Linked DNA regions of Homo sapiens: regions 1, 2 and 4 are each linked to region 3. Evidence: promoter capture Hi-C in 16 types of primary human blood cells and fetal thymus (Javierre and others, 2016). All regions are on one chromosome and are shown on one strand. Each heading gives the region's core, a stretch centred on a gene start or on the middle of the fragment in contact. The rest is flanking DNA. Distances are from core to core; before and after follow the strand shown. Region 1 overlaps TGM4 (transglutaminase 4). Region 2 overlaps TOPAZ1 (testis and ovary specific TOPAZ 1). Region 3 holds the start of ZNF197-AS1 (ZNF197 antisense RNA 1). Region 4 overlaps TCAIM (T cell activation inhibitor, mitochondrial).

Region 1 (3,016 bases), core at 52-2,551, 260 kb before region 3:
GGAGGGAACAGATGAGCCCTGGGATTGCTCCCCTTCCTGTTCAGCCCAGACTCCCATCAGCTTCAAGTCAGACACCATCCTGAGGTGAGAGTTCACATCCTGAAGAGAAGGGTGGGGTGCAAAGTGGCTGGGGTGAAGCCTTTTTATCCAAATTGAGGAGGAAGCACCAAGGAGCTCCCATGATCTGAGGCCAAGACTACTTGCATTATAAATGGGATTTTTAAGGCCAGGTGCAGTGGTTCACGCCTCTAATCCCAGCACTTTGGGAGGCTGTGGGGGCGGCGCATCACCTGAGATCAGGAGCCGAGATCAAGCCACTGCACTCCAGAATGGGTGACAGAGTGAGACTCCATCCCCCCCAAAAAAAACAGGGGATTTTTTTCTTCAATGCTAAAGTGAAAAGTACATTCAGTAAAAGAAATAATCTCCACATGCATAATACACCCTTTTCTGTAGCACATGTATTTCTCACCATGTGTCTGTTATAATGACATTTCGTATTACCTCAGCTTGAGACCCAAACCCCTCCCCTTTATCTAAAATTCAAACCATTCCCAGGCTCATGAGTCATGAAGGGAAATGTGTTTTGGCTGCATGCTGAAACCACCTGGGGGTTGTAAAACTACTTATGTTCTCCCCCAGCGATTCTGATACAATTGTTCTGAGTGGGGCTGAGCCTCTATGTTTTCAAAGCTTTCCAGGCAATTCGAGTGTGCAGAGGGCATGGTAAAACACAGACTGCCAGACCCACCCTGAGTTTCTGATTCAGCACATCTGGGGTGTGGCTGAGAATTTGCCTCTCCAGCAGCTTCCTTGATGACGCTGTGCTGCTGGCCCAGGGAGGCACATATGGAGAACCCCTAGATTAGGAAGCCCCGCTGTGGCCTGTGAGGTAAAGTGAGGTGAGATGCAGGGACCTTCCTCTGCTCCTGAGGGCTCACCCACAGAGGAAACCCATCCTCTGCAGAGATCAAGGAGGCCAGCCATGGAAACTGGGCTTTCATGACTACAAAATAGGTGGAGTGGTCACGCCCACATCAGATGCCTACCTTGGGGATGCGGCCAGTGATGTGTTTGGAGACAGCACAGCTCATTCTTGCTGGAGTGGCTTTGGGATTGGGGTCTGGACAAGTGTTCTCCAGGAAGGCAAGTCCCAGCAAGTGGCCTTCCCTTCACACTGCGCACAGGGCCTGGGAACCTGCTGCCTCCAGCAGGGAGGCCCACCTGGCAGACAGACCTACCTTCCCAGGTGCTTCCCCTTCTTGGGCTGAAACCTTGGGGTGGGCCGATGGCTAGCTGGAGCATCTTAGCCCATTTGTGCCACTGTTATGGAATACCTGAGACTGGGTCATTTAGAAAGAATAGAAATTTATTTCTCACAGTTCTGGAGGCTGGGAAGTCCAAGATCAAGGCACTAGCATCTGGTGAGGGCCTCTTGCTGCATTGTAACATAGCAGAAGGCAGAGGGCGAGAGAGGACCAACTCCCTCCTTCAGGTCCCTTTAGAGGGGCACCTCATCTCATTCACAGGGAAGAAGCCCTTATCACCTAATCAACTCTTAAAGGCCCCACCTCTTAGTATCACCACATTGGCAACCCCTGAATTTTAGGGGGAGACATATTCAAACCATAGCATGCTGTCAGGAGCTGCAATCCTGAAAGGCTTCTTCATTTCCCTGGACAGCAGAGCTCCTGCTGTGGGACCCAGAGCCAATCGCAAAGCAATCACAGCTGGAAAAGGGCTTTAACAGTCCCTCCCATGTTCTGACTTATTCCTGCTCCCCCATGGACTGGGCAGGTGGGTGACCTGGGTTCCCAAGGGGTAAAGGTATAGGTTTTGGTACCAGGAAGCAGGAAAGAGCAGTTAAGAAATCCAAATCCTAAATGCAGTCATCTCTGTGGAAGCTTCTTAAGACCTTATCTCCCTGGAATGGTAAACATAGTCCCTCCCTTGGTGGCTAGTGTGCACATTGAGTGCCTGGCACATGCCTGGCACACAGTAGGCACTCGACAAAATGCAGGCCATCATTAATGTTAGGCAGATGGGCATATAGTGGGTTGAATGGTGGTCCCACAGAAGATATCTCCACCTGGAGCCTATGAATGTGACCTTATAGAAATAGGGGATTTTCAGGTGTGATTAAGGATCTTGTGATTATATTATCCTGGATTATCCAGGTAGGACCTAAATCCAAGAATAAGTGTCCTTATAAGAGACATGGAAAGGCAAGGGGAGGGTCATGTGAAGATGGAGGCAGAGACTGGAGTTACACAGCTGCAAGCCACAGAACACCTGGAGCCACCAGAAACCAAGAAAGACAAGGGAAGATTCTCCACTGGAGGCTTCTGCAAGAGCAGGACCCTGCGGACATTTTGATTTTGGATGTCTATCTTCCAGAACGAGAGAATAATAAATTGCTGTTGTTTTAAGCAGCCTCATTTGTGGTCATTTGAATGCCCTAAGAAACCAACATACAGCACATAACAGATGGCCAGTACTGGAGCCTCCTCCCTCACCCTCTCCTGGGCACTGCTCTGTGACCTGAGCACTGCTTAAGGCAGATCTGGGAGGCTGGAGGAATCCTGGAACTACAGGAAGCCACACTGGGGCTGTCTTTAAAAAAATGCCTTTGGAGTCACATACCTGTAATCCCGGTTACTCGGGAGACTGAGGTGGGAGAATCACTTGAGCCCAGGAGTTTGAGGCTGCAGTGAGCTATGATTGCAGCTGTGAATAGCCACAACACGCCAGCCTGGGCAACAAAGTGAGACCTCAACTCTAAAAAAAAAAAAAAAAAAAAAGCGTTTGTATTTTTATTTTGTAGCTATTGCACTTGGATAGATGGTCAAAATTGATATACCAGTTTAATGCTTGCAGTGTCATAAATGCAAGATGACCAGGGAAACCTGCAAAGAAAAAGTGTCAGTGGAATACAATGTCCTTGTTTCTTGCCACCAATGTGTGGGTTGGAGTTTAAATTATTTGAGTATTAAAAAACAAAAGTCTCTGCAATGGA
Region 2 (3,006 bases), core at 317-2,816, 300 kb after region 3:
AACTTCATTCTACCCACTTGTTTTATGCTTGCATTATTTATAAGATATGCCAAACTGGTTCTATCCTGTCATTTGTTCCCTTTGCTCGCCCTCTAGCGGACAGGCTACTGTGCAAGAAATAAAGATTGGAAATTGCAAACATTGGAAATAAGGAAAGCAACTGGAAACAGAAGAGAAACAATAGGTTTCAAAAGAGAGCACAGATCTGTTGAGACCACTACATTTGAATATGTATTACTGCTCTTTTAATACATATAAATATCTAATCTTATATATTATAAATTCTGGGTTAGAGAATACAATTATAAACCAATATATTAAAACATTTTAAATGTAACTTACTTTTGTAGTGGGCTCTGGCTTTGAGCCATAAACGACTCCTTCCTAAAGAAGTAATTAATCTTCTGAGAAAGGAAAAATCAATAGGGATGCTCTTTGAAATCATGAATTCTGCCACAGAGGATGACATACCAAGACTACTGCTTTCTATACAGGAACCTAGAAGCTTATTAAAAAGAAGGCTATATTGTGAGACTTCCACAGTTTCTGGAATAAAAAAAATGATATAATAAAATTCATTTATATTAAAGTGTCTCAAACCTCCATCTCATACTCCTTTTTCTTTCTCCTCCCCTTCACCCTTTCTTACCCATTATAGGACTCACAGTCACTAAAATGCAATCATTTTATATATTCTCTTTATTTTTCTTCTCCTTTTTTGAGACAGGGTCTCACTCTGTCAGCCAGGCTGGAGTGCAGTGGCATGATCTTGGCTCACTGCAACCTTCACCTCCTGGGCTCAAGTCATCCTCTCGCCTCAGCCTCCTAAGTAGCTTGGACTACAGGTCCACCAGGCCTGGCTAATTTTTATGTTTTTTTGCAGAGGCAGGGTTTCACCATGTTGCCCAGACTAGTTTCGAATTCCTGGGCTCATCTATGGCCATACCACCCTGAACACGCCCATATCGTCTGATCTCAAATTCCTGGGCTCAAGTGAACTGCCTGCCTCAGCCTCCCAAAGTGCTGGGATTACAGGCATGAGCCACCGCGCCCAACCTATCTTACATATTCTCTAAGTCAGAAACGAAAAAGCATTTGACAAAAGAAAAACCATTAACTTCCTTTGCAATAGAGAAGATAAAAAGAAGCTTGACAAAAATTTCAGAGGATGCATTAAGACCTCTGTATTTGATTCCCACATGTAACTGTGTATCTGTAGTGTCTTGAATAATTTCTCAATTCTGTTTGTATTATATCTACAGTTCAGACCTTAGCCTTATATATCCCTTGACTAAAAACAAATCATCCCCTAATAAATATTTACTGCCAAATTTAAAACAATCCTTTAATGGATTTTCTATTCCTTCAGTTATTCTTAGAAGAAAGAGAAGTCATCTTAGAGACTTCTCTTTTATTCCCTATATTCAGTCAGTTGGGTCTGTGAGCTAGACTGTAGTTCCTTACTGCTTTAGAATCTTTTAGTTATCCAGGACTTATCAGGAAATTAATCTCTCTACTTTTAGTCTTTTCCTAAACACTACTGCCAGAGGAACTTTCCTGAAACACCAATTTCATTATATCACTCCCTAGACCCAAAACTCTAGTGATCCCTTTTTATACACAGAGAAGAAAATTCCTTTAGCCTGACATTTAGGGTCTTCCAAAATCTGGCACAACTATCTGTCCAATCTCCCTATTACTACTTTGTTTCATTACCAACTAATTGTATATTAAGAGATTGCTAGATAGCAGCCATTGGGCCAGGAATACCAAGGTAAAGAAAATAGTACCATCCTGATTGAGCTCACTTTGTATAAGGAGAAACAGATAAGAATGCTCATTACAATACAGGAGCACAGTGGAATTAAGTGGAAAAATGAAAATTTATAGATAGTACGATGAAAGTACTGAGGGGAGGCCCTCAGGTTAACGTTTTCGTCATCCTCTGAACCTATCACATAGCTCATTCTTGACCCAAAGCTTTTGCTCATGGACACCCAACATTCAAGAGTACTGACTACCATTTCCCACATTGGCGTTTGAACTTGGCATCTGTTTCACTTCCTCCATTTCTTTCAAGTTTACCTGTGTTCCTAGGTAATGTAAACTAAGTTCTGTATTTATTCAGTGATAAGAGAAAAAGCTTGCTCAGGGCATTTAAACATATTGTTTGCTGATGACTTGACAGAAGTAGGGAAAAGGGAATGATAAAAATGCTTGTCTTAGGAACTGCTGACAAACAACCCAAAGATAAGCATCTCAGATTTTTTTAAACCATCAGGAAAGTATATTCAATTTGCAGAGAACATATTTTACAGAAAACTACTTCATTAAAAAATATGCTGGAATATAAAACTCAATCAAAACAGGTGGATAACTATTTCTTATTAACAGTTAAACACCAGATGGGCAAGAGATAATTAAGATAGACTTTTAAAAAACATACCTTGGGAATTTTGAAAACCTGGTAGATTCTGCAAAACTTCAAATGTCTGTCTATAAAGGCTCTTGGCTAAGATTTCATGTGCAATTGTACAGAGTAAATTATGTCGATTAAGCACATCCAGTCTATCACAAGGCCACAGAGGCGTATTGATTATCCACTCTGACTCTTCCAAAAAGAAAAAAATATGAATAGTTTATACCATGAAAATGACACTTAACAGTATAATCACAACTAATGTTTCAATATATCTTTTGAAGAAACAGGCAAAACTTAAACATATGTACTCAGAGAAGATAACCATGGCTCAAATTTATTAGAAATAACTTATATAGTGATGATCATCATCTGAAGAAGATGCAAACAAATGGCCACTTTGTTATATTTATTTTTAATTAATTCTTCATCTAAGTGTACTAGTCAATTACTAATTTTAAATGTTTATTTTTATATAAAAAAGTTCAGATTATCACAAATATTTGCTTTAACATAAAATATTATTTATGTGGACAAGTTTAACAATTTCACAATAAATAATTTAATTAGTTTTTGGTATTACTGGG
Region 3 (3,175 bases), core at 605-3,104:
TTTTTGACTTGCATTTTGAACGAATTAATATAGAGTCATTTGTATATTTTTTAAAGTAACTATTCATATATTTTGCCCATGTTTCCATTGAGGTGTTGGGTCTTGTTAATTTGTACACACTTTTATCACAGGAAAATTAGTCCTTTGTTTACAATGGCAGCTGCAAATTTTTCTCAGTTTGTCAAGTGTCTTTGTGACTATATATGCCATGTGACTTTGCTTAAAGTGTTTTTTGCCATGCAGTCAATCTTTTACGACTTCTGGGTACTGTACCACAATTAGAAAGACCTTTTTCACTCTGAGCATGAAGAGAGTCTTAAGTGGTGTCAGGACTCTATTAGTGAGAAATGGTGGGGGTGGGAGGGCTGGATATCAAGAAAGGTCAGTTAGGTTTTTCTAATAGTCTAAACACATGACTTAAGTTCTAAACGAAGTAGGGATAAGGCAATTGAGAAAAACTTGGTAGTCCTTGGTAACTGATCTGGGGGTGATGGAAAGGAATTTTTAAAAAGAATTTTGAATAATTTTCAAATAACATAAAAATAACAAATTCTTAAACATACATTTTATTAGCTTCTCACAAAAGGTTTTCAAAGCAGAAGTTAAAAAAAACAAAAGGATCAGAGGAGCGAATCCACTCAAGGCCACTTAGCTAACTGAGACATGGGAGCAAATTCTGAATTCAGGGATTCTAATTCCAGAAGTCCAAAACAATTCCATCTACGAAGAAACTTATGAAACCCAAACAACCCAAACTGTTCTAAAACAACAGTTTCCAAACACCAGTCCACGACAAAGCTTTAATCTGGTAAGCTGCAAAAAGAGAAAACCAGTAACAATCGTCGCTGACAGGTTGGCAATGAGTGTGTGTGTGTGTGTGTGTGTGTGTGTGTGTGTGTGCGCGCGCGCGCGCAAAGGCCAGCATTTATTCTGAGTTTACGGTCTTAGTACTTTGTGTTAAAATGTATTGCCTGAAGTAATGTTGGTATGGGTGGTTTCAAGTTTGAGTTTTTCAAGTTTGATTTTTAAATACCATTATATTACAAAACTAAAAGACTAAAAAAGCTAAAATCGTTCCACCCCTTAAAACAAACAAACAAAAAAATCCGTCCTCAAGAGTCTGGGCGCCACCGGTAATAGGGAAACCTCAGAATGTTTCTGTGGATTAGCCTCAGACAAGACTGAGGAAGAGCAGAAAGGCCTGAGCTGGGGGAGCAGGCTACTGAGGCAGCTCTTCTCAAAGCGCCAGCAGAGTCCGTTAGACAGGAGCACCGGTCCACAAACACACACAGACTCGGAGCTGCTGTCCTCAGTACTTCCCTCGGGCCGGCTGCCTGCCCAGCCGAGGCCACGACGTCGAACCCCAACACGAAGCTGGCGACGGACCATGCCGGGGGTCAGGGCCCGGGAGAGGCTACCGAGGGCTGTGCAGTCCCAGCAAGCTCAGGCCCGCGTCCCGGGCCGCCTTCCCTGCACGCCCACCCGCCCCCGAGCCCACCCCGCTCACCGGGGGCTCCCGCTGCGGCTCCAGCCTTGCGTACCGCCGCCTCGGCGCCAGGCCGCTAGGAGATGACACAGGAACGAGCCCTTCCGGCAGCCGAGGCACAGAATAATGGCCGAGCCGAGAATACTGCGACTTCCGGTTGCACCCCGCCCCTCATCCCGGATCTCTAGGAAGCCACATCTCTATGGTTCGTTTCTTTTCCCAGAACTGGGGAAGAGAGGCGGAACTCCTGAGCCCTTGGGTACTAGTGTTCCTTACATCGAACAAGAACTGGCCGCTGTTTCAGACCGGAAGGGTGCAGAGATGAAAGACAGGACCCAGGGTCTCAGGATGCCTGTTGCCTCCTAAGAGAGTTGGACATTTCTATTTTGATTTGCATTTCAATTGAGGTTGATAGGGAGTGACCTTCACGTCTGAATGACCTGGTAGGTGACTTTTCTGGTCTCTTCTTGAACTTATGCAATTCTCACTATAAATAATAACATGACTTATAAATCACCCTCTTGTGAATTCGCTTACTGTGGTGTATCTCTTGCCCACATGATGACATATTGGAGCTATGATATTAAATAATAATCAAGTTGATGGTGCAAGGTAATGTGCAAATGGTAGGGACATCTCTCCCCTGAAAGAAGAGGTTATTCTAGCTGTCCATCGCCCTGGGTAAAGTCAGGTGTATATAAAGGAAACTGGCACTCTGATCCTCTCTTTGGTCTTCAGTCTCTTAAGTTTGGACTTCTGGAACTGACACCCCTATATGGGACTATGGCTGAAACAAGTCTCCAAAAGGGCAAAGGCCATGTCTGCATGGATCCCATGTATTTAGCACCTAGTACAAAGCTGAAGCCATATAGGTTGTAGATGAATGTTTATTCAATGAGCAAGGTTCATGTTATTCTGTTTATGTCTTTTTTTTTTTTTTGAGATGGAGTTTTGCTCTTGTTGCCCAGGCTGGAGTGCAGTGGCGCAATCTTGGCTCACTGCAATCTCCACCTCCCGGGTTCAAGCGATTCTTCTGCCTCAGCCTCCTGAGCAGCTGGGATTACAGGCACGTGCCACCATGCCTGGCTATTTTTTTTTTTTTTTTTTTTTTTTAGTAGAGACGGGGTTTCACAATGTTGGCCAGGCTGGTCTTGAACTCCTGACCTCAGGTGATCCACCCCCACCTTGGCCTTCTAAAGTGTTGGAATCACAGGCGTGAGCCACCGTGCCAGGCTTATTCTGTTTATTTCTTTATGTTCTCTCCTGGCATTCATTAAACAACATACTTAAACTTCAGCCTTGATTCATTCATTCATTCAACTACTGAGTACTTGCCATATGCCAAATACTGTTCTGGGCACTAGGGACATAGATAAAGAGGTAAAGTCTCTGTTCTCATGGGGCTTACATTTCTAGTGGGATAAACAGAAAACAAATATAAAAATGTGTCAGGTGGTGGTAAATGCTAAGAAATGTGAAAGCTGATCATAAGAATTGGGTCATTTTTGTCATACCTAATAAAAGAAAGTCGAGAAATTAGCTGGGGGAAGCACTCAGGGTACACAACATTGCTCCAGGAATGTTATTCTCTGTAAGCTTGACTGCTGAAACTGCTTATTATAAGCCAAAACCAGTTTTATCTATAGCTTCTGAGATAAGTTGCTGCAACTCTAGGACTAATTTTGCCCA
Region 4 (3,221 bases), core at 285-2,784, 280 kb after region 3:
GCAAAACCCCATCTCTGCTAAAAATACAAAAATTAGCTGAGTGTGGTGACACACGCCTGTAATTCCAGCTACTTGGGAGGCTGAGGCCTTGAGCCTGGGAGGTGGAGTTTGCAGTGAGCTGAGATTGCACCACTGCACTCCAACCGGGGTGATGGAGTGAGACTCTCTCAAAAAAAAAAAAAAAAAAGCATTTCCATCAAAAATAATCAAAGCAAAATAAAATTTGTGTAAAGTTCAAGGTCTTTAGTTATCCAGAAAAATACATTCATCCACTAATCGCTTTGTAATCACAGAGTATAACTAAACTACTACTGAGAAATGACTAATAAAGGACATTAGTGCTTAGAAATGTGACAATAGATTTTCTCAACAAAAATAAAATGTTACCAAATACAAATCTAAACATTAAATCATGGTTTCCAGATTTAGAAAGAGAGCACTAAAAAAATGACAGGTTGAGAATTAGGTGTTTTCTATCTGCTTATTTTGTGAGCAAGCTATTTCCTAAAAAGGTTTACATTTCAGTAGAGTAATAGAATTACAATCTAGGCCTCTGCTGTCTAAAACAGTAGGCAGCCACTAGCCACATGTAGCTACTGTGCACTTGAAATGTGGTTAGTCTAAATAGAGATGTGTTAAGCTTAACATACCCACTGGATTTAAAAGATTCAGTACAAACAATGGAAAGTATCTCAGTAATAATTTTTCATATTGGTTATGTGTTGAAATTATAATTTATTAAAATTAATTTCACTTTTACTTTTTAAAAAGTAAAACATCTAGTTTTTAGAAAATTTTAAATTATATCCAAGGCTTACATTCTATTTTTATTGGATTGTGCTGATCTAAACACTTCCAGTGAATGTGACTGTCAAAGTAGGTAGTTTGCATAATGGTTAGGAAATGGAGGCTAGGGGGCTTGAGATTTGTATTCAAATCTTGACATCTTCAGTGACTGTGTGAGCAAGGGCAAGTTACGTTACCTTCTGGAGTCTGTTTCCTCATCTCTTAAATAACATAGATGGTTAAGAAAAGTCTGTTGTAACACCAAAACATTTCTTCTTTTTTTTTTTTGAGACAGAGTCTCGCTCTGTCACCTGCGCTATAGTGCAGTGGCATGATCTCGGCTCACTGCGACCTCTGCCTCCCAGGTTCAAGCGATTCTCGTGCCTCAGCTTCCCGAGTAGCTGGGATTACAGTCGCCTGCCACCGCACCCAGCGAATTTTTGTATTTTTAGTAGAGATGGAGTTTCTCCATGTTGGCCAGGCTGGTCTCGAACTCCTGACCTCAGCTGATCCTCCTTCCTCGGCCTCCCAAAGTGCTGAGATTACAAGCCTGAGCCACTGTGTCCAGCCTTAAAATGTTTATTTAATGTGAATCAGCTTATATGCAATTGGTCAATAGGGGAAAGACTTATATATGCACTTTACCCCCAACATATTACTGATTTGAAGTGATCAGAGGTAGGCTTTCTACAATTTAAAAAAAAAAAAAAGGCTTTAGTGATATGTAAAGACCTTAAGGAAAAAAAATCTCCTGGTATTTCTTTCTTTTGGTTTAAGAAGCAGATGTTTAGTGGGTTCAAGTCTGGCTACATTTTCCACTTCATCAAACCATCTGGCAATGTGCTAGGATAAACGAAAAAGCTAGAGATTTCCAAGTCTTTTAAAAAAAAATTTGATTGATAAATAAAGCTACTCCTAGATTAGAATGTTAATCTTGATGAAACTGGTCTAAACTAGATTTAATTTTACTACCATGTTTATTAGGGTTAGGGTTTTTGTTAGGGCTCTTATAAAATTTTGTTCAGTTTTGAGTGGTGTGTGCTTTTTCTCCACAAACTGTTACTTTTGCTTATTGTTTGGCAGCATGTCAGGATTTCCAGGAATGCAAGAATGGCATTACAGCAGAAACATGTGGATATATATAAACATTCTGTCCCCACTCCAAACTGCCTTTTAATTCTGAATCTTAAGTTTTCATTAACTGAGAGAATACTTTGAGCTAACACAATGCTAATCTGCTAGACAGGAGTACAATTTAGTAAATGAAATTAGTGAATATTTTATTGAATTTTGTCTTTATTTTATAAAAAAGAAAAATTACAATTCTAATACTAGTAATAAAGAATACGAAATGAAATACAAATGAGAAAACGTTATCTATATTGATATTTGGTCTGTATCTGATGCTCACTGAAGTTATCTGGACAGCACATTTAAGATAAAATGGTGGAAAGACACAGACAAAATGCTAGAAATATTCAATAAGACTTTTCTAAAAGGTGAAATCTAATTTAGAACCTAATAATGATGTTTAAGCACTGTGGATGTGGAATCCCACATCTGACTTTGTGTATGTGTTTTCAGGGGTACATCACTTATGAAAGTAGGGGCTATCTTTTTCATAGAACTTTTGTGAAGCTTAAGTAGAATATGCATAAGGGATTTAGCCACATTTAGTAAATAAAAAATTCATTACAGTTGCAACTATTATTATGTCAGAGTGTATTAAAAAATGGCATAATTTTTTTCCATCTAATGTCAGATAACATATTGCTCAAACATGCAGTTCAATACAACATTTTATTCAAAAACAAATTTTGAAAAACTTTGTTGAAAAACTCAGAATTATCACAATAAGGAGTCAATGTCTGAAGGTCTTAAACACAAGGTAGTAGGCAATTTTGCCAAGGCTACATACAATTCAAAAAGTACAGATGAATAATTTCACAAATTTTTCTCTAGAAAAATACTTTTAATTCATCAGAATTAAAAAATAGCTAGTTGTTTACTTTTACCATTTGAAGACAAAGGTGGCACTTGCTAACCAATAAAAACACAAGTTTTGATGGAAGTAGCATTTCTCTCTTCAAAATAAAAACCTAAAGTGAATATAATAAAGTTATATTGTGCTGTGGGAATTGTCTTTTTATGAATTAATACTGACTTTTTAAAGACAGTGTTCTGGGTCATGGAGAAACAATGAGAGAGCAATAGGGGAGAAATGAGAGGGAATGTGACTTTTCCTTTTTCCAATAATTCTCCTCTCTCCCACAATGGCAGCCAATTCATATTTCTAGAGGAAAATGCCTATATATATAAAAATATATTCAGTTAATAATTCTGCTATCCATTCAACAAAATTATTGCTCTAAGATGATCACTTCCTATACAAATCATTGGAAAAAATTAAAAATATATTTTCTCGTTCTGTTTAA

What was found. Contacts are between HindIII fragments. The CHiCAGO score rates a contact against its expected background, and 5 or more counts as called.
Region 1: a contact is called between a fragment that was not itself captured here and the fragment with the promoter of ZNF197-AS1 in region 3, in 1 of 17 cell types (endothelial precursors). The highest score is 5.4, in endothelial precursors.
Region 2: a fragment that was not itself captured here is called in contact with the fragment with the promoter of ZNF197-AS1 in region 3 in 1 of 17 cell types (erythroblasts); the score reaches 5.0 in erythroblasts.
Region 4: a contact is called between a fragment that was not itself captured here and the fragment with the promoter of ZNF197-AS1 in region 3, in 1 of 17 cell types (total CD4 T cells). The highest score is 5.3, in total CD4 T cells.

What each region holds. Positions count from the first base shown.
Region 1 is chr3:44,881,843-44,884,858 of GRCh38, reverse strand. The region is part of intron 1 of TGM4 (transglutaminase 4); the gene reads right to left. Among named protein-coding and RNA genes, the nearest start is that of TGM4, 8.7 kb to the right of the region's middle. RefSeq lists an enhancer at 288-965. The HindIII fragment of the contact is 1,211 bases long and covers 696-1,906 here.
Region 2 is chr3:44,320,632-44,323,637 of GRCh38, reverse strand. It overlaps TOPAZ1 (testis and ovary specific TOPAZ 1), which reads right to left. Exons shown (of 20, transcript NM_001145030.2): 17 at 2,447-2,611; 18 at 343-546. Among named protein-coding and RNA genes, the nearest start is that of TCAIM, 17 kb to the left of the region's middle. The HindIII fragment of the contact is 832 bases long and covers 1,151-1,982 here.
Region 3 is chr3:44,623,476-44,626,650 of GRCh38, reverse strand. It overlaps ZNF197-AS1 (ZNF197 antisense RNA 1), which reads left to right and starts at 1,854. Exons shown (of 2, transcript NR_046658.1): 1 at 1,854-1,929. All of the region lies in intron 2 of ZNF660-ZNF197 (ZNF660-ZNF197 readthrough), which reads right to left. ZNF197 (zinc finger protein 197) reads right to left here and starts at 1,615. Exons shown (of 6, transcript NM_006991.5): 1 at 1,508-1,615. The region is part of intron 2 of ZKSCAN7-AS1 (ZKSCAN7 ZNF cluster antisense RNA 1); the gene reads left to right. RefSeq lists an enhancer at 780-1,282 and a silencer at 1,262-1,611. The HindIII fragment of the contact is 2,284 bases long and covers 801-3,084 here.
Region 4 is chr3:44,340,990-44,344,210 of GRCh38, reverse strand. The region is part of intron 1 of TCAIM (T cell activation inhibitor, mitochondrial); the gene reads right to left. Among named protein-coding and RNA genes, the nearest start is that of TCAIM, 3.8 kb to the right of the region's middle. The HindIII fragment of the contact is 1,784 bases long and covers 643-2,426 here.